Regions from separate parts of the Homo sapiens genome. Here regions 1, 2, 3, 4, 5 and 6 are each linked to region 7. The links are contacts of gene promoters, found by promoter capture Hi-C in blood cells and fetal thymus (Javierre and others, 2016). All regions are on one chromosome and are shown on one strand. The core of a region is centred on a gene start or on the middle of the fragment in contact, and the rest is flanking DNA. Distances in the headings are between cores, read along the strand shown.

Evidence for each region. Contacts are between HindIII fragments. The CHiCAGO score rates a contact against its expected background, and 5 or more counts as called.
Region 1: a contact is called between a fragment that was not itself captured here and the fragment with the promoter of KBTBD3 in region 7, in 1 of 17 cell types (M0 macrophages). The highest score is 5.2, in M0 macrophages.
Region 2: a fragment that was not itself captured here is called in contact with the fragment with the promoter of KBTBD3 in region 7 in 1 of 17 cell types (neutrophils); the score reaches 8.6 in neutrophils.
Region 3: a contact is called between the fragment with the promoter of ALKBH8 here and the fragment with the promoter of KBTBD3 in region 7, in 1 of 17 cell types (total CD4 T cells). The highest score is 6.4, in total CD4 T cells.
Region 4: a contact is called between the fragment with the promoter of ELMOD1 here and the fragment with the promoter of KBTBD3 in region 7, in 1 of 17 cell types (naive CD8 T cells). The highest score is 5.4, in naive CD8 T cells.
Region 5: a fragment that was not itself captured here is called in contact with the fragment with the promoter of KBTBD3 in region 7 in 1 of 17 cell types (non-activated CD4 T cells); the score reaches 5.9 in non-activated CD4 T cells.
Region 6: a contact is called between the fragment with the promoter of CASP5 here and the fragment with the promoter of KBTBD3 in region 7, in 1 of 17 cell types (neutrophils). The highest score is 5.7, in neutrophils.

The regions. Positions count from the first base shown.
Region 1 is chr11:104,689,892-104,693,916 of GRCh38, forward strand. The region is part of intron 1 of LOC105369466 (a long non-coding RNA gene); the gene reads left to right. Among named protein-coding and RNA genes, the nearest start is that of LINC02552, 83 kb to the left of the region's middle. The HindIII fragment of the contact is 6,917 bases long and covers 1-4,025 here.
Region 2 is chr11:104,960,273-104,963,953 of GRCh38, forward strand. All of the region lies in intron 1 of CASP4 (caspase 4), which reads right to left. It overlaps LOC124902813 (a long non-coding RNA gene), which reads left to right and starts at 171. Exons shown (of 2, transcript XR_007062986.1): 1 at 171-3,681. The HindIII fragment of the contact is 6,671 bases long and covers 1-3,681 here.
Region 3 is chr11:107,563,268-107,567,048 of GRCh38, forward strand. It overlaps ALKBH8 (alkB homolog 8, tRNA methyltransferase), which reads right to left and starts at 2,468. Exons shown (of 12, transcript NM_138775.3): 1 at 2,334-2,468. RefSeq lists enhancers at 1,819-2,337, 2,141-2,630, 2,338-2,854, 2,701-2,760. The HindIII fragment of the contact is 7,705 bases long and covers 1-3,781 here.
Region 4 is chr11:107,588,962-107,593,072 of GRCh38, forward strand. It overlaps ELMOD1 (ELMO domain containing 1), which reads left to right and starts at 2,186. Exons shown (of 12, transcript NM_018712.4): 1 at 2,186-2,448. RefSeq lists silencers at 2,069-2,178, 2,239-2,378 and an enhancer at 2,629-2,688. The HindIII fragment of the contact is 4,180 bases long and covers 799-4,111 here.
Region 5 is chr11:107,446,375-107,450,404 of GRCh38, forward strand. All of the region lies in intron 3 of CWF19L2 (CWF19 like cell cycle control factor 2), which reads right to left. Among named protein-coding and RNA genes, the nearest start is that of CWF19L2, 9.4 kb to the right of the region's middle. The HindIII fragment of the contact is 3,918 bases long and covers 545-4,030 here.
Region 6 is chr11:105,020,840-105,024,803 of GRCh38, forward strand. CASP5 (caspase 5) reads right to left here and starts at 2,329. Exons shown (of 10, transcript NM_004347.5): 1 at 2,291-2,329. The coding sequence starts at 2,297. All of the region lies in intron 1 of LOC124902742 (a long non-coding RNA gene), which reads left to right. The HindIII fragment of the contact is 8,276 bases long and covers 1-3,964 here.
Region 7 is chr11:106,075,761-106,079,312 of GRCh38, forward strand. It overlaps KBTBD3 (kelch repeat and BTB domain containing 3), which reads right to left and starts at 1,587. Exons shown (of 4, transcript NM_198439.3): 1 at 1,552-1,587; 2 at 747-947. It overlaps AASDHPPT (aminoadipate-semialdehyde dehydrogenase-phosphopantetheinyl transferase), which reads left to right and starts at 1,902. Exons shown (of 6, transcript NM_015423.3): 1 at 1,902-2,133. The coding sequence starts at 1,951. RefSeq lists enhancers at 1,380-1,499, 1,510-1,619, 1,930-2,169. The HindIII fragment of the contact is 8,387 bases long and covers 1-3,357 here.

The sequences.
Region 1 (4,025 bases), core at 549-3,048, 1.4 Mb before region 7:
CATATATAGTACCATCTGTCTATTCCTTCCAAATCCGCTTAAATATCTTTCTGGTAGCATTCTACCAAAAATAATTATTTCAATGATTTTGGTAATTCTTTTCAATTTTATTCTTAAATTGCTGGCTATTTTCACTTTTTATTTTTTATTTTGGAATATGAAGTTTCATTATGTGCTAGTTTATTTCCAAAGAATATGTCTTTGATGGCAAGCAGTAAATAAATTCCATCATGCTGAATATTATGATTTTTGTGGTTTGCACTACACACATAAAAATCCCTTATATCCATGTCTTAAATTAAAAAATTGTACTTATGGAGACGTGAATTTAAAACATAATAAAAATATTAAAGTGGCTATATTCATGCTGCAGAATTGCCTATTTGTGCCAACAGATTACTCTTCCAGATTTACTTGTTTTTTGGGTACAGAAATAGGAAAACATCCACATACACGGGTTATCAGATGAATGAGATAGAGCCTAAGAATATGTTGAAATTTCCGTGTTTAACCAGATCAGTGTTACTAATATTAGGATTTAATAAGATACAAAGACATAGCAGATGCTTCTATTTAACAAAGACATGTGGTGCTCTCTGACCAAATCCAGATGTGTTCATAGAGCTTGTAGTGAAATTATAAAGTCACCAATTGTACTTACAATTTTAGAGTAAGTAAATAAAGACAGTGTCCTAATATTCTTTCCCCAAAATCTACCAGGTGCCTAGATAGTTATAAATATTTTTATGAACCAAAATGAATTACAAAGTGAAAAAAATTGCCTCTAAGTTGGGGGATATAAAAAGTCAGAGATGATATGACTTATACGATTATTTTAAAACCTGGTTAAATCATACACGCTCTCCATAAACAAAGTTACAGTACAGTAAGATAAAGAGATTTACATTTTCCAGAGGTGGAACTATGTGCAAAGATGAGGACAGGGTTAGTAGAATTGGGTGATTCGAGGTAGCCACCATAAAAGTATTTAAAGTAGAGACTGGCAAACTTTTTCTGAATAGGTGAGAAAATACTTTAGGCATTGCAGTCTCTTTGAAAAATGGTCATCTGGCTGGGCACGGTGGCTCATGCCTATAATCCCAGCACTTTGGGAGGACAAGGTGGGAGGGTCACTTGAGGCCAGGAGTTCGAGACGAGCCTGGCCAACATGATGAAACCTCATCTCTACTAAAAATACAAAAATTAGTTGAGGTGGTGGCACACACCTGCAATCCTGGCTACTCATGAGGCTGAGGCAGGAGAATCACATGAGCCTGAGAGGTGAAGGCTGCAGTGAGCCGAGATCACACTGCACTCTAGCCTGGGTGACAGAGCAAGACTCTGTTAAAAAAAAAAAAAAAATTACCAACTCTTGCCATCATGGTGTGGAAACAGCCACTAATACACAAATAAGCATGACTGTGTTTCAATAAAACTTTATTGACAAAAACACTCAGTGTGACGTTTTTGGAATGTAGGCTGTAGTTTGGTGACTCAGCCCTGCAATACATAATATAGTAGAAATACCAGGGAACTCAATGTCAGAAAATATTGTTACAAGTACATACTCTTTAGTAGGTTTTTTATTTTTACTTTTATTTCTTGTTAATACCTTGGCCAGGCATGTTATCTTTCTGAAACTCTCTTCTTAACTCATTGCAATATAGTCACTGGAGGACAGGATTGCTGTACAGATAAAGTGAGATAACATAGACATCCTGGTAAAAAAGAACACACAATTTTAAAAATTTTATTTCATTACACACTCCACTAAAATGACAGTAGATGGAAAGGAAAATATAAATTCCCAAGGTCAAAAATGGGAAGAGAGAATAGAGAGAAGATACCAGATACAAGACTCATCAACAAAAGTTTTGAATTTGGAAAGCTGAGATATGGGTAGAAACTGCTTTATTAGATTTAAGAAAGCTGAACATTAAGTATCTCAGAAGCAAAACTAATAAGAAGCAAGCTGAGTTGTCCTCCCAAAACTTCAGAAAGATTTTAGAATTGATGGCAGATAATACATTTCAAGGTGAGGATATTAGATGATGCTAAACCCAGAAAAATTTGTACATGAGGCATTTAAACTGCCAGATCCCACATACCAGCCAGGAGAGCCACCATTTTCTATTGTTTCTCTATGCCAACAGATGGGAGAGTCAGTTTTTCAAAAAAAAATTTTGACTTGGTGCGGTGGCTCACGCCTGTAATCCCAGCCCTTTGGGAGGCCTAGGTTGGCGGATCACCTGAGGTCAGGAGTTCGAGACCAGCCAGGGTAACATGGTCAAACCCTGTCTCTGATAAAAATATATTAAAAAAAAAAACAAAAAAAAACAGGCATGGTGTTGGGCACCAGTAATCTCAGCCACTTGGGAGGCTGAGGAAGAATTGCTTGATCCTGGGAGATGGAATTTGCAGTGAGTTGAGATCATGCCATTGCACCCCAACCTAGGCAACAAGAGCGAAATTCCATCTCAAAAAATAATAATAATAATCAAAATGAAAATAAAATAATAATTTCAACTTTTATTTTAGATTCAAAGGGTACATGTGCAGGTTTGTTATACGTGTATGTTGTATGCTACTGAGGTTTGGGATAAAGATGGTCCCATCGCCCAGGTAGTGAGCATAGTATCTAATAAGTTGTTTCTCAGCCCATGCCCCGCTTCTTTCTTCCTGTCCCCAGTGTCCGTTGCTGCCATTTTTAATGGTCATATGTAGTCAATGTTTAGCTTCCACTTACGAGTGAGAACATGTGATACTTGGTTTTCTGTTCCCACATTAATTCACTTAGAATCATGGCCTCCAGCTGCATCCTTGTTGCTGCAAAGGACATGAGTTTGTCCTTTTTATGGCTGTGTAGTATTCCATGTTGAATATGTACCACATTTTCTGTATGCAATCCAATGTGATAGGTAATCTTTATATGTGTTGATGCAATAGTCATTGAGCTTAAGGATACTAGTCAGACAATATGGGTATTTAGATTTACTGAATACAAACAGGCTTAAGTAAATTTCGAATTCTGAATGGTTATCACCTCTCAGCTGCTTCCCCTAATTCATCAAGATGCTGATAATAGTCAGGCTTATAAGTTTTGTAAAAAGTGATTCATCTAAAAGAAATAAACCTTTCTATATTGATAGATAAGACAAGGTCATGTACTTACCTTATCTCCAGTTCAACAAACACATCTTTCTAGTGTCTCACTTTTAAAATGAGCAGTCAAAATGATCAGGTATTAAAAAAACAACTCTAACATGAATGACTAAGACCAAAACAAATAAAAAGACTGAAACGATTTAGAGAAATAGAGATCACACACATGTGTAGGGAAAAAAACTGCAAAAGGTGTAATTATATCATCAGAGAGAGAAAATATTTTATTCATAAAACAAGGAGAGAATGCTATTATAAAAAGTAATATTCAGAGACCAAAAAAGGATCATAGGGACATTAAAAATATGACAGTAGAAATTTAAAAATTCAACATAATGACTGAAGCACAAGTGCACAGTAATTCTAGAGATATGCTTCTCAAATTGCATTGTGCATAGAATCACTTGGAGAATTTGATTAAAGGCACATTTCTGGAGTGGGACCTGAAACTGTACATTGCCAACAAGTTTGCAGATGATGCTAATGTTGCCAGTCTCAGGCACTCTGAGAAGAAAGGCTCGATAGAGTATCAAGTAAACAAAATAGATAACAAATAAGAGAGAAAATAAGAAAATAAGGTATAAATTTTGGGGATTTTATACCTGTCCAAGAGCACATCCAGAAAGAGAAAGAAAGGGTGAATTGGAGAGGAAAATAAAATTTTAAAGACTGAGGAAAATTTTCCAGAATATGAGTTTCCAAATGAAAAAGCCACTAACTGTCTGGCACAGTAAGTAAAAAGTTTTCTACACCAAGGCATGTAATAAAAAAAATTCAGAGTACTATGTAGAGAAAAAGGAAGATCGTAAAAAGTTCCAAAATTCAATCAGTCACACACACCTCAAACACACACACACAAACAC
Region 2 (3,681 bases), core at 114-2,613, 1.1 Mb before region 7:
GCTTCTAATTTCTTCTGGTTTTTGAACTGTTCTCTGTCTATCTGTCTATCTGTCTATCCTTCAAGTATCAGATTAGATGGTATTTTCTTAAGGGAATCCTCTCTGATTCTTCCAGAGGAGACAGCATCAGAGATATATGCTCCTAGGGCACCTTGTATCTCCTTAGAGTAGCATTTTTTTTCCATTTATTTATTTATGTATTTATATATTTTTGTGAGACAGAGTCTCACTCTGTCACCCAGGCTGAAGTGCAGTGGTGCTATCTTGGCTCACTGCAATCTCTGCCTCCCGGATTCAAGCGATTCTCCTGCCTCAGCCTTCTGAGTAGCTAGGACTACAGGTGCACACAACCACGCCTGGCTAATTTTTGTATTTTTAGTAGAGATGGGGATTCACCATGTTGGCCAGGCTGATCTCGAACTCCTGACCTCAGGTGATCCACCCATCTTGGTCTCCCAAATTGCTGCTATTGGATTACAGGCCTGAGCCACCACATCCAGCCTTTTTTTTTATTTTTCCATTTAATTGTGATTCCCAGCCTACTTATCTCTATCCACTGTTAGAATTTATGCTCTGTGAGGACAGGGGCCATGAACTACATCTGCACTATTTTTGGCATTCTTTTTACTAGTTATTTACTGAATATTTACTAATTATTTACTGAATCAGTAGTCAAGTCCATGTAGGAACAAATGAATAAAACTTATGTGTGGCTCAACTCTTAAGGAATATGAAACCACCTTTGCAAAATTATAACTGAGGAAATTACAACAATGAACGAAATCAGACTGGGAAAGCCTTTGTGGCTACCTGCTTGTGGTTTGGTGCCCCCGCTCCAGCGATGGATCCAGAAGGTAGCCCAAGTAGCCGCCTAGTTCTCTTGGACTGGGGGCTGGCTCTGGTACTCTCTCCACTGGCAGGCACTGCCAACCCAATGTGCATGCATTTAATTGCAACGGAGAAATAATCCTGGAGAGATGTCCTCTAACTGTGGCCCTATCACAGGGTTTCCGTCTGTAGCTGCATTGAAGGGTGTCTGGATTGGTGAGTATCCTAGGTGCTGCCAATGCCTCCTTCCTTCTCCTGACTGGTTCTGTGGCCCCATAGTGGGGTGTCTGTCTGTAGCCCCATTGCAGGGTGTTAGGATTGGTGAATCTACTAGGCACTGCTAATGCCTCCTTCCTTCTCTCGACTTGTCTGTAGCTCTATGATGGGGTGTCTGTAGCCCCATTGCAGGGTGTCTGTAGCCCCATTGCAGGGTGTCTGTTTGTAGCTCCACCACGGGGTATCTGTTCGGCTCCACTGGGGTCTTGGTTGGCTCTAACTAGTAGGAAGAGTCTTGGTTCACGAGACTTGTCCTCAATCAGGACAATTTTGAGATTTCTCAGACAGAGAATAGGAGGATAGTTTGGAAGGGATACTCTTGGAGTTCCTGTTTAGGGATCATCTGATTTGGAAGGCCTTCTGTCTGTCTCATCTTCGTGTGTGTTTGTATATGTGGAGGGAATCTCAGAAGGAATTGCTGAAGGAAGTCCAGCAGGCCTAACTCAGAGGACTCTTCTTATTTGGTTACATTCGATGAGCCCTGGAGAAAGTTCAATAGGCCTGTCTCATGGTGACTATCTGCTCTTTGCCTTACCCAGAGACCCCATTGTGAATTACTGTTCTGAGGTCGTCCCTCCCCACCTGGAGTGGATCAAAGACAACAGGGACGAACAGAAAAAAGTCTGAGCTTTGCCAGGTTGATATTGGGTGCTGAACGAGGTGACTAGTGTCTGTTTTGTTATGTGAATTCTGCTGGGATAGAAAATGTTAAATGGTTCCCCATGCAGCTGGTTGGGCAGCATCTTGCATTTTAAGAATCTTGCCTATGTTTCCATAAAACAGAAAATGGTGACTTTTTTCTTGTAAAGTGGCTTGAACCCCACAACTATGGTGAGGTGAGCAGGCTGATCAGAAGCCGTTCCGTTCTTCTGGAAGTTACAGAGAAAAGGCACCCAGAAATCTGGTATGCCAGCAAAAAGTGTAAGAAATTCTTACCAGCTAGGTTTCTGGTCTCTCTCTCTTTCTCCATCTGTGTAAACAGTAAACATCACTATATGTTTCTCTGTAAAGTTTTGATTAATAGAAAAAAGAATTTACAAGACTAGTCTTAGCCTATAGCAAATCTGGTGTATTTTTGCTAAGAATTTGTCTTTCAGTGTTCTGTAATGGAAAGAGGGGTATCACAAGATAGAACATGGGTTTAGGACCCCTATAAGCCTGCTTTTCAAGCCAGCTCAGCAGGCTGGCCAATTATAATGGGTCCCTGAAACCAATACTGTATGAAATTTCTCTGTCTTGTTTGGCCTCCTTAAGAGCTTAATCTTGTGACCATATGTGGATACTTCCTTTTGGTTTATACCATCCAGCCCTAAAAATTTTTCTTGAGCAGTTAAAAGCCTTGGCAAGGTTAAAAGTGGCTTCTCTAGTCTCCTTCTTGGAATAGCAATAGAAACTGCTCAATGCTGTAATTCAGTAGCTAAGACTTTGCCTTTTGACATAGAGGCTCAGGCTCTATTCTTGGCTTCTGGAACAATTTCCTTCTGGTTTGCTATTTGCATAACTTTGCCATTTAATGAGGTTCCCCCACAACCCCATGGATAGCTTCTGATTTCCTCTCTTGAATTTTCCTTTCTCTGGACTACCTTGGGGAAATTCTAAATCTTGTAAAAAGAAACTGCTTACCACACCTTTGAAGCACCTGGGAAGTTACTTTTGATAAAGTTCAAAAGCCAGAAATGTTGGCCGCATGGCTAAAGTTGGGTAATACGAAATTTAAAAGGATTTTGTTAAGAGCACTAAGGTTAAAAGTCAGCTTAATTAAAAGTGAATAAACAAGTTATGGATACATTTAAAAGACCTTTATGTTTTTCTCTTCTTGGATCTCGTTTTTCTGTAAAAGAGGGTTTTTTCTTCTTAGTAAACTGAATTATTTTTCTCCATTTTTTGTCTTGCCACTCTTAATGCACACATAAGAGGCACTAAGATAACTTTTGGTAGCCTGAGACTCCTTGAGAAAAACAGAGGAAGCACCACAGACCCCATTTTGGGAAAAACAAACAACAAGAAACAAACAAAAAACCCTCTGTTTTCTTCATGACAACCAAGGAATTAAAAGTAGATGGATCACTCTCAAAATCAAAGGCTCTGTTCTGTTTTGCATTGTGTTATCTGACAGTTTGAATTTTGGGGATATCAGAAATTACTTTGCATTATGAGATAGCTTTGGTATGTAATAACTAGGTAGGAAATATACTTTAAGGGATGGCTAATAGTATTTTCAGAGGGAAACTTGGCTCTTCGCACACTTGGGTCAGAGAAGCATGCTCTGGGCCACCTGGAAGATACGGAAACATCCCCATGCCTGACTGAGAGATGAGACTTCCATGGGGGATGGGCTGATTTCAAAATGGGTTGATTGGCTTTAGGTTGCCTTGCAATAAAATGCAGGTTAGAAGCACTGCACTCTCTTCTCCAGTAGTATTTCCTTCCTTTTGGGGATCTGGGATCCAGTATAAAATGGCATCCTTCATTTTGGAGATCTGTCTTTGCCTTCAGCTGTGCCTGCTTATTTAGCTTGGAAAAAAAATGCATGCTTTCCTGGCCCTGTTCCTCCAAGGGCTCCACTCTGAAGCCAGT
Region 3 (3,781 bases), core at 1,218-3,717, 1.5 Mb after region 7:
TGAACTGTGAGCTTTCTGAAGGCGGGATTAAATCACACTTTTCTTAGTTACCACAGAGCCTCATTCAGTGCTATGAGGTAATATAATACAGTGTTTAGGAGTCCATGTTCCAGGTTCAAATCTCAGCTCAACCACTGATTATTAGCTGTATAATCCTAGATGAGTTGGTTATATAGCTCTGTGTTCCAGTTTCTTTATCTAGGAATAGGGATAAAAATAATAGTGCCTATCCCATAGCTTTCTTAGAATTAAATTTATTTATTATTATTTATTTATTACTGTTGATTTTCAGAAGCAGCAGATCAAAATGGCTTAACAAAACAAAGAATATCTGAGGCCCTTCAAAGGAGCTATTTTAGAGCCATTCCATTTCAAGATCTTCATCTGTGGAACAGCAACTTTGCAGTATGTCATGGAGAACAAGGGATGACTGCACTACAGAATTTTTAATATTTCACATGAGCAAACACTGCAAAGAAGGAATGAGAAAGAAACGATGCTAAATATATCTTTTTAAAATGTCTGCCACTAAGAGTCCAGCACCAGCAGGTGGAGCCTCATAACCACATTTTTGTCATCCCTTTCCTTTTTCTCTCCCTCAGTCATGCAATATTATTGCACGTGAAGAAAGACACTAAATGGCCTTTGAGGCTCAGTTTTCCACCATTCCAGTGGCTAGGCAATGTGCTGGCCCAACATATCTGAGTCATCTCAACAAGGATAGGCTGATACCAGCTGCTGAGGTCTGGAGGTGCCCCCTTCTGACAAAGCCACTTCCCTGGCCAGAGTTTCCACTAATGCACAGATACTTGGATGCTCCCTGTGACATTACTGGAGTGAAGTCACTATTAACTATGATACTAGCCATGCTGAGTCCGGTTCAGCCAGCTCCAGCCTAAGCGTACTCTCTGTGGGATAATGAAAGTTTGGAGATTATGCATGCTCTGCTACTTGCTTGTTAGTGAGTTTAAAGCCAATATATCCTACTAGATATTGCCCTACGTGGTAATAGTAGTATGTACATCATGCCCTCCTTGAATAATAGAGAGCCTATTATGAAACAAGCAGTATAGACAAATGTTCCTATACTTATATGTTTAAAAAAATGCAAAAACCATGATTACTTTTGCACAACCTAATAATTAATAGCAAAGATTAGAAAGAATCTAACTTCCTATCAAACGAGGCCCAATTTTAACGTACGGCACTGGTATACAGAGTTTACATATAAATCTTTAGGACACACAAGAAATTGGTGATATGGGTTGCCTCCAGGGAAGGAAAATGGATCGATGAGTAAAGGAATGAAAGGGAGCTTTCTTCTTTCATGACTTTTGAAGTTAGTAGCTATTTAAACTGCATCATCTATTTAAAAAGAAAATAAAGATTTAAAATTTTTAGAAAAAAATTCACCCCATCACTTGTCACGGCACCCCGTTTTAACTCTTTGAATAACACTTACTACATATTTTCTTACACTCTCATTAATTTGTTTATTCTGTCTTTCCCCATAACTGAATAAAGAACACTCACTCCATGAAGTAGAGATTTTGTCTCTATTGTTCACCCTGTAGCACCCAGCACTTAAACAGGATTTAGCACCTAGCAGCCACTCAATAACCATTTGTCGAATAAACCTAAATCGACTTTGCTGTCTTACCTCCTAAACCTCCCCTCCTCCAGAATTCTGAGTTTGGTGGCCTTCTTCAACGTTTTCATTAACACCTAGCATGGACCTCTATCTCTAGAGTTCTCACATGGTATTATAATTGCCTGTTTGTGTTGGGCTTCGGCCAGAAAACTGTCATCTATTTAAGGGCACAGACTTGGTGCCTGACATACAACTGACAATAAATATTCAATGAAATCTATCAAAATAACAGGCTGACGCTACCAGAGGTCCAGGAGTCGCAGGGATTGCTCAAATAAGAGCACAGGAAGACTCAGCTGCGCAAGGGATCAGATCATCAGCACTGCCTTTGCATCGATGCAATCAGACCGATTGTCACCGGTCAGAAAAGCCCCAGAAGCGCCACACTAACACGCCCCATGTTGCAACCGTCCTCTCCAACCCCAAAGAAAACAGAAGATTGACACAGGCACCACGTGAGCGCCCGAACCAAACACAAACACATGCACCCTAAACACTGAGAGAACCACCCAACGCAGACACCCTACTGCCCACACTGCACCAAGGGCGCCTCTGGGATCCATCCCCTTTCCCTAGGTTCTCAGCCCTAGCTGGCAAGGCGGATAGAGAAGACCGGAAGAGGCTGAAAAGAGGAAGCGGTGATTTGCTGCCCGTATGCCCGCCAGTAAGAAGTGCCACACACCTCCGCTTCGGCTCAGGCCGGATTCTCACCATGCGTGTGCCTTCTTCTTTGCCAGCCTCTCCACTCTAGCACCAGAACACCGCAGCGGATACTTGCACGCCATCTCCCCTGGGCGCGGCCATGTTGGAGAAAACTGCACTACATTTCCCATGAGCCCGCGGGACAACGAACAGCGCTCCCACAGTCCTCTTCGCCTCCCAGAGCCCGGGAGTGACCCTTTTTCGACCAAGTGTCTTTGTAAAGTGCTGTCTGTTACACTGAAAATTCAGTTGTCTTTTTGGGGGGAGTAGTAATAATTGGTAGTGCAGCTATATTTTTATCTGTTGCTCTCCAAATGGACAAGGTCAAACAGGTTTGGGCCCTTTGGTCTTTCAGCAATGTCCCCTGGCACCTTCTATTCTTCGTGCATATTTCCTCCTGAATCTTATTAGAGGTGAGAAAGGAAAATAAATCTTGGTGCCACAAAATCACTAAGCTAAAGGGAAAAGTCAAGCTAGGAACTGCTTGGGCAAACCTGCCTCCCATTCTATTCAAAGTCATCCCTCTGAGTCATCCCTCTGCTCACTGAGATAAATGCATATCTGATTGCCTCCTTTGGAAAGGCTCATCAGAAACTCAAAAGAATGCAACCATTTGTCTCTCAGCTGTAATACGTGCGACCTGGAAGCCCCCTCCTCACTTTGAGTTGGCCCGCCTCTGCTTCAATTTGTCCCTCCTTTCTGGACGGAACCAATGTTCATCTTACATATATTGATTGATGCCTCATGTCTCCCTAAAATGTATAAAACCAAGCTGTGCCCCGACCACCCTGGACACATATCATCAGGACCTCCTGAGGCTGTGTCACGGGCGGGCGTCCTTAACTTTGGCAAAATAAATTTCCTAAATTGTCTGAGACCTGTCTCAGATATTCAGGGTTCACAGAGATATGGGAGAGGATCCTGGGGTCTGAAAGATGGCATTGCATGGGCGGGAGGGAAGGAAGTGAATATGCATGAATGTGCCAGGGGAATGGTGAGTACCACAGAGTAATAGAAAGATGTGTGGAAGAATGGTGAAGGAAGCAAGACAGAATTCTGTAGGCCTGCAGAGTGGGAGTTGCAGGGAGGAAGGTTAGAGAAATGAAATGATATGACCAGAGCTTCTTGTGGCAAGTGGGAGGAGAGACTAGAAGATGACTGATGAAGTGAAAAGTAACGAAATATTAACAAGCCCAGTAGTGGCAGAGGGAAAGAAAAAAGAGCTGGTAACAGATCATAAGTAAAAGACAAAGGAGAGGGTGATGATTAGCAGTTGTTCCTGCTCTGTTATTTGTTATATAAATGTACCATAATCCTTCTACCTGCATTGGTTTATGAGCTATGTGAGTGCAGGGAGGGAAAGGTGTAGGGGAAGAGGAATCACCTTCCCATGTTGTTGATACAATGGCCCCTATCTGCAGTGCACCA
Region 4 (4,111 bases), core at 936-3,435, 1.5 Mb after region 7:
AAACTGGCAGAGATCCATGTCCATGTCATTTGTTTGGCCTAGAGCCAATATTAATATTTTTATTGATGTTTTTTGGAAGGATGAGTCAAGACTCTATAGCGTAATTTGATGGATAACACAAAGACAAAAATTAACAGAATTACTAGACTTCTGTCCTTAGTGATTATTTACAGTTTAGGTGTTTATTTTCTGTCTTTTTCAACTAGACTGTAAGTTCCATGAGGGCAGGAACTTTGTCTTGTTTGTTCTTATTTTCCTAACATGTAGAATGGCGCCTGCAAATAACAGTTGCTCAGTAAGTAGTTTTACATTGCTTGAACCACAGTGATAGGCTGTGATGAGTACTGTGATAGCAGTATGCACTGGTGCTATGAGAGCACAGCATTCACTCTGTCTTGAGGTTCAGGGTAGGCTTCAGAGAGAAGGTGACATTTGAGCTTGAAGAGTGAGTAGCACTTCATGAAATAGAATGAGAGAGAATGGTATTTCTTTTTTTTTTTTTTTTTTTTTGAGAATGGTATTTCAGAAAGGGTGGAACACCATGAATAAAGCAATGTGTTATTAAAAAAATAGTATGTTTGGGGGATAATAAAAAGTTTATCTTTTGAATTCTGATACTTAAATAGTCAACAGTATGCATGGGAAGTAAATTTCCTTCCATACAGGCATACATTACTTCATGCAATAGTTGTGAAACAAGGACCACAGGGAGATGCAAGCAAATTACGTTTAAAAGACTATGGAGTAAAATTCTTTTGTCAGGTGGATTAATCTATCCCTAATGAATCTCTCCCGAGAAGCTTTTCCCTCCAAAGGTCTATCTTTTTCCAAGACGTTTATTCAGGGAGGTATCCTTCATATCTCCCTGAAAAGAAAGAAAAGTAAATAGTGGCTAATGCTTTTAACAATGATTAAAAAAATCAGAAAGGTCAAGGCTTTAAGGTCATTTAATGTGAAGAGGAAATAAGATAAATGTTCAGCATTTAAGGATTATCACTAACCCAACTTTTCATAAACACAGAATAGTGGAGGTGGAACCTGCAGAGACTTTTATTCAGGGAACATCCACTGCGGGACAGGCAGATGCTTTGGTATCCAGGCTGCTCCGCGCCGCCAGCTGCCCAAGTAATCCTCACAACAGCCCGCAGAGGTAGGTATTAACCACCCTTTGTTTTACAGGTGAGGAAACAGAGGCACAAGACGGTCAGGTAACCGGCTTGGAGTGATGAATGAAACTAAAATAAGCGCCGACCTCGAAGCTCATTTGGTCTTTCCCCAACCCCATGCGGCCTCATTAAAGAGACTTTTTTGATTAGCTATGGAGAAAACGTTCTTCATCAAACATGAAATGCAATCCGGAAGGCACAGGTTTCTCTCTCTCTCTCTCTCTCTCTCTCTCTCTCTCTCTCTCTCTCTCTCTCTCTCTCTCTCTCTCTCTCTCTCTCTCTCTCTCTCTCTCTCTCTCTCTCTCTCTCTCTGTCTGTATGAAGTGGCTTCTGGGGCCCCACGAAGCAATGTTCCCCCAAACAGCCCCGGACGAGGGTGTCTATAATTCATCCTGTTATAATTAACCCCGGGGTTACGGTATTGCTTCTAAAGCCCTTGTTGAAATGCAGATATGGACCTCGCAGGATTGACACGATCTCTCAATTACACCTAATTAAAGAGCTGGCTCTTTGAGAATCTGACCCGACTGGGCCAGGAGTGGGAAAGGCGGGGGCTGCCGGTTGGGGTGAGGGATAGGGTTCTGCAGTCCCGGGAAGGCAGGTGAAGGGTGGGGATCAGGATTGGAAGAGTCACTGGGTGCTCGGTGAGACGAGGGAGGTTGGAGCTGAACTAAAACAAAGTTTGACTTCTGGACAATTATCCAGGGAGAGGGCGGGGAACACACCTTGCCCGGACTGTCTGGGAATCCCATTGACAGGTCATCTCAGGTTCACCATCTTCCTGTCGTGGGCTCCTCCAGGGAGGCCACCCGGGAGCAATTAAACTGGGCCACACCAGCCACCTCCCACAGCAGCGGGGTCCGCAGATTTAACCCTTTCCCCCCAGATTCCGGCACTGGGTGCCGCGCTCTCTCCCCCAGCACCGCGCCCGCGCCCCCGGCTCCCGGACTGGGCATGCTCAGTAGCCGCCCGCTTCGTGCTCCCAGGGAAGCCTCTGCACGCCCTCCCCCGCTGCTCTCGGTCGCCTCCTCGCCGCCAGCCGCCCCGGGTGCATCCCGGCTTGCTCCGCTCCACGCGACCCAGATTCCTGCCCCGCCCCCGCCCCTTCCGCGCCCGCAGCCAGTGCGGCAGCCGCGGCCGCCCCTGTCCAGCCTCGGCGCCCGGGACCGAGCGCGTCGCTCGCCGCCGCGGAGCGCGTAGCCGGAGCGCCTGGGGAAGGCGGAGATGAAGACCACGCCGCCGCGCGCCGGGAGCTGCTGAGCCTACCGCCGCCAGAGTCCAGGTGATTGGCGACCCCAGAGGAGCCTAGGGAGTAGGGGCGAATGCCCTTGGGGAGGAGAGAGGTGCGGCGAGGACGCGAGGCATCACGCAAGCTGCGCTGTGCCTGGGAGGCAGCAGAAATGCTAAGCATCGGGGGCAGAGAGGGAACGGGAATGAAAGTGCACTCTGCCTTGGTGCAGGGGCTCCGGGGTCACCCAGGACAGTGATTTCCCCTTCTATCCTGTCCTCCCAATTAACACCCGAGAGGCTGCAGGTCGGCGCGAGAGGCTGTTTGCATCTCGGCCCGGGCGTAGGTCGCCTAGCGACCTAACGCCGAGGGCTCGGGGAAGGGATCCCAGACAGAGCCAAAATGGAAGGCGGGACAAGGGCGGCCTGGCTGGGGCGAGGGGCTGGTCTGGGTCCCTGGGAACCCCTTGCCTTGTGGGCTTCGGTCTCCAGGGAGGAGCTAGGCAGCCGGGCTGCGGGGCCGCCGGACTGTGGGGTCCTCCGCGCAGCGAGCTGGGAGGAGCGGTCGGCTGGGCTGTTGAGCTGCGCCTCCTCCAACTGCTGGGAAACTCCGCACTTCAATATTGGAGCATCTCTTTCCCGGGCAGGTAGAATTGGACAGCCGAGTGGGGAGTGACAGCTGACAGCTGACGGGGCTGTTAAAAGCAGAGCAGTGGAGTGTGGTGGTGGGGTGAGCTGTTGTGGGTGCTTTTTTTTGTTTTCCAAGTGTGGGTACGGGCTGTTCTGACTCAGTGTTTATGCTCAACCTCTAAGCGGCGAGTTCGGTAACACATCTTATGAATATTTCAGGAACGACCTCACGGGCTCACTTGCTTCAGATCAAGTTTAATGAATATGTTGTCAGCCTTTCTGCTCTGCACAGTGCCCTGAGCTTTCCACATTTCATCCCTTTCCCCCACCACCTAGGAAAATACGCTGCTAACCCCCAGTGGGCCGTAGATTGGTACTATCAATTGAGTCTGTCATTTGGAGAGACCAATTTTGGGCAGGCATCCAGGCATTGTTCTGCATCTCTGCAATGTATACGTTTTGTGCCGGTGGCTTGACAACCGTCCTTAACTGGTGCTGCCAATATGGTGGAAAGCAGGTAGTATGCTTGTATTGGGATAAATGTCTTAATTCATTAACCTATTATGACAACACGTAGTTACAGCAGACTTAGTCATTCCCTCCCCCAGAAGTTTTCTCGGGGGTCAGTTTAGTTGGTATTTTGCCAAAGGCACACTCTTGTATCTACATTGGGAGGTATTTCTCTCATCTTAATCTTTTTCATAGGAAGAAGAAATAAATGTCTTCTCTGTAAGACATCACTGTCAAGAACACTGAAAGAAGAACCCATTAACGTAGGGAACGTTGAGGACTGGAACAGGTTGTAGGGCGTCTTCCTACACTTTGGGTTATAACTTCCATTGCATCACCACCATTTACCAGTAAACCAGCACACACAGCAATCAGTACTCGAAATGGTTCTCTTTTGCAGAAAAAGCCTGCTTTTCTCCCAGCTTTGGTGAGATAGATACGTAATCTTCGTAAAGACCTATAAGGAATTCCTCTGTGGAACAAAATTTTAAGCCTCCAGTACAGGATGCTGAAAGAAGCAACTCTTTAATCTTGCCAGCCCATGCACAGTGAAGCTGAAGTGCTTCAATTTACAGATG
Region 5 (4,030 bases), core at 1,254-3,753, 1.4 Mb after region 7:
CCTTATGCATGAAATGCCAAGCACACCTTTATTTGCCTAATGCTTACTAATCTATCTAGTCTCAATTCAAGCATCATTTAATCAACAAGTTAGCAAATGAAATCCCTCTTAATACCCTGTACTACCATGGCATCATGTTGGATGGTATGCTAAACTCAGTAACAACAGAAAATAAAGCCAACATCTTCTTCTACAAAATCTACTACAAAATCATATTATTAATATTATGTATCTATTTATCCAATTAGGAAATGAGTTCCCCAAAGGTTTAAAAATATATTTTTATATTCCCCATGTCTAGAACAGTGTCTGGCAAAGAATAAGCATTTGATAAATGCAAGCTGAAATTAAATGAAATGTCTTTTTCTACTCTTTCAATAGCACTAGTCAGAAACTTTTAAGCAGCAACCTATACTCATTTTCACAATTATGCACTCACTCACCTTACCACTTCAGCAAAATTGATGCTCCCCATGCTACGACTTCAGTTCTCTTGCTAATTTTAGTTTCAATCTCCATTTTACCTTGAACTCATTAACTATCAAGCTTAATACGCCTCCTGACCTAACACAGCCTTCAGGGCTCTCCTTCTCTTGTGCAGCCTGCAGAATTAACCACACCTCTAATTCTATCTAGTGGTCAAAACCTAGAAGGTGGAACTAAGACAGAAAAGTGCTACCAGCAAAACTCAAGGGATCTTGAGGACTTCTGCTTCTGTCCTTGACAAAATAAATGGCATCAAACTAGAAATACATACAAATTGGAATAAAAATGAAACTACAATCTCTACAGCTTTTTATCTAAAGGCACTTTCTAGACTGTGGCATAGAGGGGTAACCCAAGCAGAACATGAAAATCTCACTGAGCAAAGGAAACGGAATTTGAACTTTGTGAAGGCTGAAACAAAAGTACAGATGGGAAGTTACACAGAGAAAGGGTGCCAGAAATCTACTTAAAGGACCCCTGGAGTCTTTAAAGAAAGACCAAGCTGAACATGCTGAGGATGAGAGTCCACAAGGTCAGGCAAAGAAAAATTACCATGGAGAAAACAATTACCAAAGAGCTGTAAGCAGAACAATCCCCAGAGCTCACAAAGGGCTGGAAGACATTCTAGTTCCTCCCAACCAGAATAAAGAAACCTCGCTGAACATCCATGACAATCAGCAGAGAACCCACAAAGGTCATGCCTTAGTAGAAAGGCTAAACCAGTCCTAGAGTAAAGCTATTCTAGGTGCATACGAACAAAACTTAAAAACAATCCTTGAAAAGGATTAAGCTAATTCACAAGTAATTAACTGTATGCCAAAAGGAAACTCAATACTCTCTGAAGAAGTCAACAAAATCCAGCAGTCACAATATAAGTTTCATAGGGTTCAGCATCCAATTAAAAGTTACTAGACATTCAAAGAAGCAAGCAAATGTGACCCATATTCAAGAGAAAAATCATTTAATTGAAACAGAACAGGAAAAAACAAGAGAAAATGAAACAGCAAACCAAGACTTTAACACAGCTATCATAAATATGTTCAAGGAAGGGAAAATGTAAAGATAATGAGGAGATAAACTGAAAAACATTAGAAAGATCCAAACGAAACATCTAATGATAAAAAAAAAATACAGTACCTGAAATGAAAATGTCACTGGATAGGGATAACAGTAAGCTAGACACAGCAAAAGAAAAGGCCAGTCGGCCAGGCGCAGTGGCTCACACCTGTAATCCCAGCACTTTGGGAGGCTGAGGCAGGCAGATCACGAGGTCAGGAGATCCAGACCATCCTGGCCAACATGGTGAAACCCCATCTCCACTAAAAATACAAACAATTAGCTGGACGTGGTGATGAGCACCTGTAATCCCAACTACTCAGGAGGCTGAGGGACGAGAATCACTTCAACCCAGGAGGCGGAGGTTGCAGTGAGCTGAGATCACGCCACTGCACTCCCGCCTGGCAACAGAGCGAGACTCCGTCACAAAAAAAAAAAAAAAAAAAAAAAAAGGCCAGTAAACCTGAAGCTCACGACATAGCAATAAAATATACCCAACCCAAGGCATAGAAAGGAAAAAGGCTAGAAAGTAAGTGAACACAGGCTCATCAACCTGTGAGACATTATTTTAAGGAGACTACCAAAATGAGAGGGAACAGAAAAAAAAAATACTTCGAAAAAAGCCTGAAAGTTTCATATTTGATGGAAACTGTAAACTCACAAATCAAAGCAGCACAATGAACCTAAGGCAGATGCTACACTCTGAATGTTTGTGTCCCCCACCAAATTCTTATGTTGAGATCCTGACTCCCAAGACAATGATAATAGGGGCTGAGGCCTTTGGGAGATGACTGGGAATGGGATTAGTGCCCTTATAAAACATAGCCCAAGAGCACTCCCTTCTGCCATATGAGGTTAGAGTGAGAAGACAGCCATCTCTGAGGAACTGAACCCTCATCAGACACAAAGTCTACCAGCGCCTCGATCTTAGACTTTCTAGCCTCCCAAACTGTGAGAAATAAGTTTCTGTCATTTATAATCCACCCAGTTAGTTTTGGTATAGCAGCCCAAATGAACTAAGACAGTAGAATAAACACAAAGAAATCAATACCAAGACATATCACAATTGATTCACTGAAAAATAATGATGAAAAAAAAAGCCCTAAAAGCATCCAGAATAAAAAGGCACACTACATACAGAGAAAAAATATTACAATGACTACAGAGTTCTCAATATGTACAATGCAAACCAGAAGACAATGGGATGACATTTTACAGTGCAAAAAAAAAAAAAAAAAGAAAACACTATAAACTTAAAATTCTTTATCTAGCCAAGTATCTGAAAAATGAAGATTGCTAGTAGGAACTTCTGAGTTTGTGGTAAAAGAAAAAAAGAATGAAGATGAAATAAAAGAAATTTTCAAACAAAAGCTGAGAGAATACAATGTCTGCAAATCCATATTATAATACATGTTAATGAAAGTTCTACAGACAAAAGGAAAATGGTATTAGACAGAAATTCAGACCTACATAAAATAATAAAGAATATCAGAGATGATAAATCTGTGGGTAAATATAAAAGACTTTCTTCATATGTGTAACTTATTTAAAAGATAACTGACTAAAGTATAAATAAAAAGAATGTATGACATTAAAAATTATAAACAATGTGGGTTTATAACATATGTAGAAGTAAAATATATGACAACAATAGCAAAAAATATGGTAGGAGAAAATGGAAGTATATTTTGGTGAAAGTCTAATTATAAAAGTAAAATTATATATTATTTGAGAGTATGGTAAGTTAAAATATGCATAAGACTTAAAGCAGTCATTAAAAATAAATAAGGTATACCTAATAAGCCTACAGCAGATGAAATGGGATGCTAAAAAACACTCGATCCAAAAGACAGGAAAAGGAAGGAACAAAGGAAAAAAGAACAAAGAAAAAATAGAAAAGGAATAACAACATGGTAGACTTAAACTCATCCATATCAATTATTACATTAAACATAAATAATCCAAACCAGTACTATTCAAAGAATTTTTCTATATACTGTCGAATATAGTAGCCACATAAATTTGGCTGATATAATTTTAATGAATTTTAACAAAAAATTTAAAAGCCATAAACAGCTAACAGATTAGAGAGCACAAAAAACATCTAATTGAAAAGTAAGAGACGTGAGCCAAGATTGCGGCACTGCACTCCAGCCTGGGTGACAGTGTGAGACTCCATCTCAAGAAAAAAAAAAAAAAGGAAGAGGCCAGATGCAGTGGCTCACATTTGTAATTCCAGCACTTTGGGAGTCCCAGGTGGGAGGATTGCTTAAGGTCAAGACTTTGAGACCAGGCTGGGCAACATGGCAAAACCACATCTCTACAAAATATATATAGATCATAGGCTAGAATATAAAATGTCTCAAAAACTTTTTAACAACTGAAATTATACAGAGTACAATAAAATAATAATTAAATCCAAAGTCAATAACCAAAAAAACCTAATAAAATCCACAAATATCTGGAAATTTAAAAACTCATATATATA
Region 6 (3,964 bases), core at 1,079-3,578, 1.1 Mb before region 7:
CGCATTGCCACGTCAATCCTGAGCCAAAAGAACAAAGCTGGAGGCATCACACTACCTGACTTCAAACTATACTACAAAGCTACAGTAACCAAAACAGCATGGTACTGGTACCAACACAGAGATATAGATCAATGGAACAGAACAGAGCCCTCAGAAATAATGCCGCATATCTACAACTATCTGATCTTTGACAAACCTGAGACAAACAAGCAATGCGGAAAGGATTCCCTATTTAATAAATGGTGCTGGGAAAACTGGCTAGCCATATGTAGAAAGCTGAAACTGGATCCCTTCCTTACACCTTATACAAAAATTAATTCAAGATGGATTAAAGACTTAAAAGTTAGACCTAAAACCATAAAAACCCTAGAAGAAAACCTAGACATTACCATTCAGGACATAGGCATGGGCAAGGACTTCATGTCTAAAACACCAAAAGCAATGGCAACAGAAGCCAAAATTGACAAATGGGATCTAATTAAACTAAAGAGCTTCTACACAGCAAAAGAAACTACCGTCAGAGTGAACAGGCAACCTACAAAATGGGAGAAAATTTTCGCAACCTACTCGTCTGACAAAGGGCTAATATCCAGAATCTACAATGAACTCAAACAAATTTACAAGAAAAAAACAAACAACCCCATCAAAAAGTGGGCGAAGGACATGAACAGACACTTCTCAAAAGAAGACATTTATGCAGCCAAAAAACACATGAAAAAGTGCTCACCATCACTGGCCATCAGAGAAATGCAAATCAAAACCACAATGAGATACCATCTCACACGAGTTAGAATGGCAATCATTAAAAAGTCAGGAAACAACAGGTGCTGGAGAGGATGTGGAAAAATAGGAACACTTTTACACTGTTGGTGGGACTGTAAACTAGTTCAACCATTGTGGAAGTCAGTGTGGCGATTCCACAGGGATCTAGAACTAGAAATACCATTTGACCCAGCCATCCCTTTACTGGGTATATACCCAAAGGACTATAAATCATGCTGCTATAAAGACACATGCACACGTATGTTTATTGTGGCATTATTCACAATAGCAAAGACTTGGAACCAACCCAAATGTCCAACAATGATAGACTGGATTAAGAAAATGTGGCACATATACACCATGGAATATTATGCAGCCATAAAAAATGATGAGTTCATGTCCTTTGTAGGGACATGGATGAAATTGGAAATCATCATTCTCAGTAAACTATCACAAGAACAAAAAACCAAACACCGCATATTCTCACTCATAGGTGGGAACTGAACAATGAGAACACATGGACACAGGAAGGGGAACATCACACTCTGGAGCCTGTTGTGGGGTGGGGGGAGGGGGGAGGGATAGCATTGGGAGGTATACCTAATGCTAGATGACGAGTTAGTGGGTGCAGCCCACCAGCATGTCACATGTATACATATGTAACTAACCTGCACATTGTGCACATGTACCCTAAAACTTAAAGTATAATAATAATAAATAAATAAATTAAAGAAAAAAAAAGACTGCAGATTATTCATATATGTTATAAGGTTTAGAAAGCACTGATCTATTCCAGTTTCTTCCTTTTTCCAGTGAGGAGAATGAAACCAAAGACGCAATATGACCTGCTGGAATACGAGCTGCTTAAGTAGCCCAGGACTCCAACTCATAGGCTTTTTTAGCTTCTGTGTATAAGACAGTTGGCCTGAAAGTAGTGTGCAGTATGGACTGAAGGGTTAAGTTTTTGGGAGTGGGAAGACAGTTAAAAGTCTATGATAGCAACCTAAGATATATTACATTATAAGAGTTAGTACCAGGACTACATAGAAAGGTGGAAAAATGCAATCACTTTAAACAGACCAATAAGATAATTCAAGATAAGAGATGACAACACGTTGAGAACACAGAGGCTCTCAGATCTGATTGTGGGGAGAAGGTTCATAGTCTGGAGGATTAATTTGGAATCAAGAGGAAGCAGAGAAGATTTCAGAGTGCATTTAGAAATTTCCGGAGTTTTCTCACACAAATAACTTACTCTGTCTTTCCTTACTCTCTCTTTGATTACCAGAAGCTGAAAGAAAGGAATTAACCTTTTTCTGGCTTGAAAACATCTAGAGAACATACTCTCCTTCAGTGTCTCTACACAGTCTCAGGATTCAAACTACATACCACCAATAAGAGAAAGATTCAGCATGCACACTATTGGTTGATTTCCCTTTTGGTATTTCTGCCTGTCACATAGCAATAAATCAAGATTTTTCTAAGACCTGAGTACCCAGCTGCTAGTCAGAAAAGGGCCCAGACTCACCAGCCATAGCTAACAGCCTCTGTCTCTTTGTACAGCACTGGAAAGTGCCTCAGACTCAGAGATAAAATACACTAGGTACTTCCTTATTGCAGGGAGTGGGGACAAGTGATTACAGATTATGGGAAGTTGCTTCTGGGAACCTATAGTTTCATCATTGGGAAGTGCCCTGTAGTAAGCAAATTGGCTTTCTATTCTTGAACTCTAGATTCTTCCCTGGGGAAAAAAAATGCAAATGACAAAACATTGTTTTGTGGGTTGAAACCTCAGCCTGGTTTTCTTTTTCCTTTTCTCTCTCCATAGCCCCACATCTTCTTTTATTCATCCCTCTCTTCTGATCTGTCAGTTTTTCTACCTCTGCTCGTCTAAAAACACATGTCCTGAATGAGTAAAATCTAACTAGTTTCCTTGCATCTTCCCATAAGAATTAACCAAATATTTTGTATATCTTGGGTTTCTTTATTTTTCATTTCAATTTTTATTTGAGTTTCAGGGGTACATATGCAGGTTTGTTACAAGAGTATATTAGGTGATGCAGAGGTTTGTAGTACAATTTAACCTATTACCTAGGTAGTGAGAATAGCACCCAGTACATAGTTTTTCGGCTCTTGCCTTCTTCCTTCATTCCTCCCTCTGGTATTTCCCTGTGTCTGTTATTCCCGTCTTTATGTCCATGTGTACACAATATTTAGCTAGAACTTACAAGTGAGATTATGTGATATTTGGTTTTCTGTTTCTGCATTAATTTGCTTAGAATAATGGCCTCCAGTTGCATCCATGTTGCTGCAAAGGGCAGGGTTTCATTTTTATGGCTGTGTAACATTCCATAGTAGCAGTGTACCACATTTTTTTAAATCCAATCCACCATTGATGGACACCTGGGTTGATTCTATTATTTTGGCTACAGTGAATAGTGCTGCGACAAACATTTGAAAGCACATGTCTTTTTGATAGAACAGTACATTTTCCTTTGAGGATTCAGTCAGTAATGGGATGCTTGGACAAATGATAGTTCTTTTTTTAGTTATTTGGTAAATCTCCAAACTGCTTTTCAAAAAGATGGATGCATCACATTACTGGACTTCAAGCTATGCTAGAAGTCTACAGTAACCACAACAGCAAGGTATTCGTACAAAAAAAACAGACACAAAGCCCAATGGAACAGAATAGAGAACCCCAAAATAAAGCCACACACCTATAACCAACTGATACTCAACAAAGTCAACAACAACAGCAAAAAGAAACAAGGAAAGGATTGTTTATTCAATAAATGTATTTCTTGTTTAAACTGTGCTGAGGAATCATGATGGAGTCTTCTCCTCCCCATCTCCCTGTCATCTTACGCTTTGATTGGAGACAGTTCTGAAGGAATCCTCTTATCTACTTCCTGGAATGCTGTTCTTCAACTGACTAAAACTGCTTTAACAGTTAATTTTTACTTAGGGTGGCAATTCACTTCTCCTTTTTGATATTCTCTGAGCAAAGACTGATCACAGATGTAGTCTCAGGTTGTAGTAGAGTATGCATGATAACACAGAAGAGATATGCCCAGAGAAACAGTTAATAAAAGGTAAAAAAAAAAAAAAAGAGAGAGAGAGAGAGACTGTAATGTGTTCAACTATGAAGGTGTTTAAGAAGTCAGAAATTAACTCTCATTTAATCTGTTAAATATTAGAA
Region 7 (3,552 bases), core at 337-2,836:
TATGAGATTTGGGCCTGAATGATACAGAGGAAACAAGGAATGTGATAATGGGAGAAGGGGAGAATATTCTAGATTCTAGACCAAGTACAAATAATCCCTACGTTACTGTCTGTGTATTAGGCTCCATAGATCTAATACACAGAGATCTTGCTCGATGGTAAAATAATGGGATATGAATTCCTGAATTTAAACAAATTCTCTTTCTGAGCTCATTGTCTCCATCAGTAATAACTAGTGCACAGAACATGTGCAATAACGTACACAGAAGTGTTTTGGAAACAGAAACGTAATGTATCAAAGTTATAAAAATCAGTTTAAAACGACAAGAAGGAAAGGTTATATGATTCTTAGTTAAAAATGGAGAAGTGAGTTATGATCATTGCTGATATGGGTATTAGTATCACTTACGTATCTTTACACTGTCTCTTATTGTACTTTTTATGCGTATGATTTATTTGCCTTACCAGATTGTAAGCTCCCTGCAGCTGGTAAGCAGATTTTCAACATGGCAGCTGACACAGGCTTTTGGTTAGCTAAGATGATATATTAAGCCAATAATTCGTTTTACTGTCCTTTGGGGATCTGAATTTGTGTGTGTGTGTGCTCAGAATCCCATCTACTTTCGAGGGATTCGGGGGGCTTATGATATCACGAAAAGTTAATGAAGACAAGTATAGATAAAAACATAATAGAACCCATCTTAAATAGGACAGAAATCATAGGCAGGTAATTGTGTTAATTACTACCGCTGGCCTTTGGCTGATATTTCCGGGCAGTCAGAGGAAGAAGGAAATCGGCTGAATCCCGCAGTACCGCACTTTAATCGACCTCCAGGTAGTCATTTACAGTCATCTGCAGAGACCAACTTTTCCCTGGACCAAAACCTGCAGGGCACTTGGATCGCGTGGGCTTTCATACGAGAGTCAACAACAGCCTACACGGAACAACTAAGGAAACAGACATACATCAATATGACCCTTCGCAAAGTCTGAGAAAATAACTGAGCAAAGTTATTTACTTGTTTCTGTTGCTGTTAGAGCAAGGACCTCTGTCATGATGGAAACACTGATACCTCAACAATGGAATCCTGTTTTCTCGCTAGTGCTCTAGCCCAGGCTTGGCAATAGCAAAACAGCACCTGGGTCGCTTCATCGCCCCAAATAAACAGCCAGCATTAGCTCAGCTGCTCGCTGGCAGCCTCGGATCCAGGCGGGGTCAGTGTTGCGCACTGGGGATAGTGCCTCTGCTCGGCCTTCGGAGGGAGGGTTTCAGGTAGGCTGCTGCTAAGGGTCGGGAGCGTACTGTGTGAGGGTGGGTCTTAGGCTGATGCGGATGGGGGCAGGGAAAGAAGGAACTCAGGGCTGATGCGTTGCACAACTGCAGGGGGCACCACTGCAGACCCCCTCCTAGAGATGGAAACCTCTCGTGCCCCGTACACGAAGCAGCTGAAGCCAAGGACATTCTCTTCTCTGTGGGTCACAGGGGCCAACTCAGACCCTGAGAATAAGGGCTACCATCCCACTCCTCCCTCAGACCCCGGAGCTCACCCACCTGCAACTGCAGTCTCCGAAGTCTCCACCCCAGTCTCCCTGCCTCCAGAGGACTGGTTGCGATTGGCCTGCACCGCTGTCCCGTTAACTCTTCCGCAAGTGTGAGTGGCGTAACTGTCGGGCTCTTGGCCTTGGTCCCGCCCTTCGCTCGCCTCCGAAGCCTCGCCTACTTGACGTCATACAATGCCGCAAAGCGCAGGGCTGATCTCCGTCTCCGCCCCCAGCTGCTTTCTCCGAGAGGAGGTGGCTGAGTCGGGGGCGGGCTGGGAGGGCTGTCGGTGGGCCAGTCTGCGTAGCGACGGCCCGTCCCCTGCGCACGGACGCCGGGAAGAAGGGGGTGGGGCCACGTTTGCGTCCGCGCCATCAGGCCCGAGATAGCGGCGAGGTCCGCTTTCAGTGTATGGTTTTCCCTGCCAAACGGTTCTGCTTGGTGCCATCCATGGAGGGCGTGCGCTGGGCCTTTTCCTGCGGCACTTGGCTGCCGAGCCGAGCCGAATGGCTGCTGGCAGTGCGATCGATTCAGCCCGAGGAGAAGGAGCGCATTGGCCAGTTCGTCTTTGCCCGGGACGCTAAGGCAGCCATGGTACTACAGGTCTTTTTTGGTATTTAGAGCCTAGGAAGCAGATCTTGGGGGAGGCGGGCCGGGCTGTGGAGACCCGACACTCCCGCGCTGGCCGCGACCCTCTCGCTGTGGAGCCTGTGGCCGGCCCGGGCGACAGCAGCCGGCGCTGCGGAGTTGTGGGCGACGCACGGCCTGGTTTCCACGGCCTTTGTAACCGCCTTGGAGGCCGCGATGGCTGTAAACATTATCTCTTTCCCCTTGTTATTTCAAATGGAGACCCTCCTAAACCATGAAATAAGTGTAGGGAAGGCCGACAAAATTGGGTTTTTCTGTAATGAATGTTTTTATGTCTTTATCTTTAAATGTTATTTTTTTTTGTTTGTGTGCGTTCATAGCCTATGCTTATTCTGCCTGTTAAATATCCCATCATTCTCCAAGGACTCCCTGCACGTGGTAGGCCCTAGAAATTATTGACAGTATGATTTAGTTTGTAGCCCTGCGCTCCCCGGGATTGAAGCCAATGAAATTGAAGCCAGAGAGGATACCTTCCTCACTAGATGCCATGGGAAACAGTATTTTACGTAGATTTATTTATTTTAGCTATGTATTTTGAAGCAACAAATGGAAAACTGGATTTCAAAACAAGTAATCTGTACAATATGGTGCAATTTGAAACAACCGTGAATTACCATCATTTAAAAGACAGTCCTTTCTTAAAAATGTCCCATATTGAAACACTTTCTGTTTGAAATGTAGACTAGTTGATAATTTTTAAGGCACATTGGTGAAAATTTTTTACTCATTTGTAAGGAATTGTAAAATAAGCTACATTTAAAAGCCTGCAGTTTTTAAAAGTCAGTGTTAGAATTGAAGAAGAAAAAAACCTGAAAGATATTTTTAAAAATATATACTTTGTCATCTTATATTCTTGTTTTTTTGTGTGTGTGTTTTTAGTAATTATTTAAAAAATAATAATTGGAGGTGGGAGAGAGCAGAACAAGATAGGTCATGCCTTGCTAATTGTTGAAGCTGGGTGATCAATATATGGGATCTAGAAATACATATGCACAGATGTAGGTACAGTAGGGTTGCTCACTGCAGAGTTGTTTTTGACAGCAAGTCTAGAGCCAGCCTAAAATGTCCAATAAAGGGGAAATAATATTATGAAATATGCTACAGTTAAAACTGCATGGACCAGACGTGTGTGTACAGACATAAAATACTTCCCAATACTTATAAATTTAAAGCTTATATGTGGTAGAATACTGCATAAGTATAATCTCATGTTTGTGTTTATATGTAGAGTTAGCAAAAACATGTAAATGCACATATATTTAAATACAGAAAAGACTGACAGGATGCCAGCTGTTAACTTTGGTCACTAGCAAAGGAGAGGGAATTGCTAAGGCGGGCTTTAACTTTTTATCTACTTAAGCATTG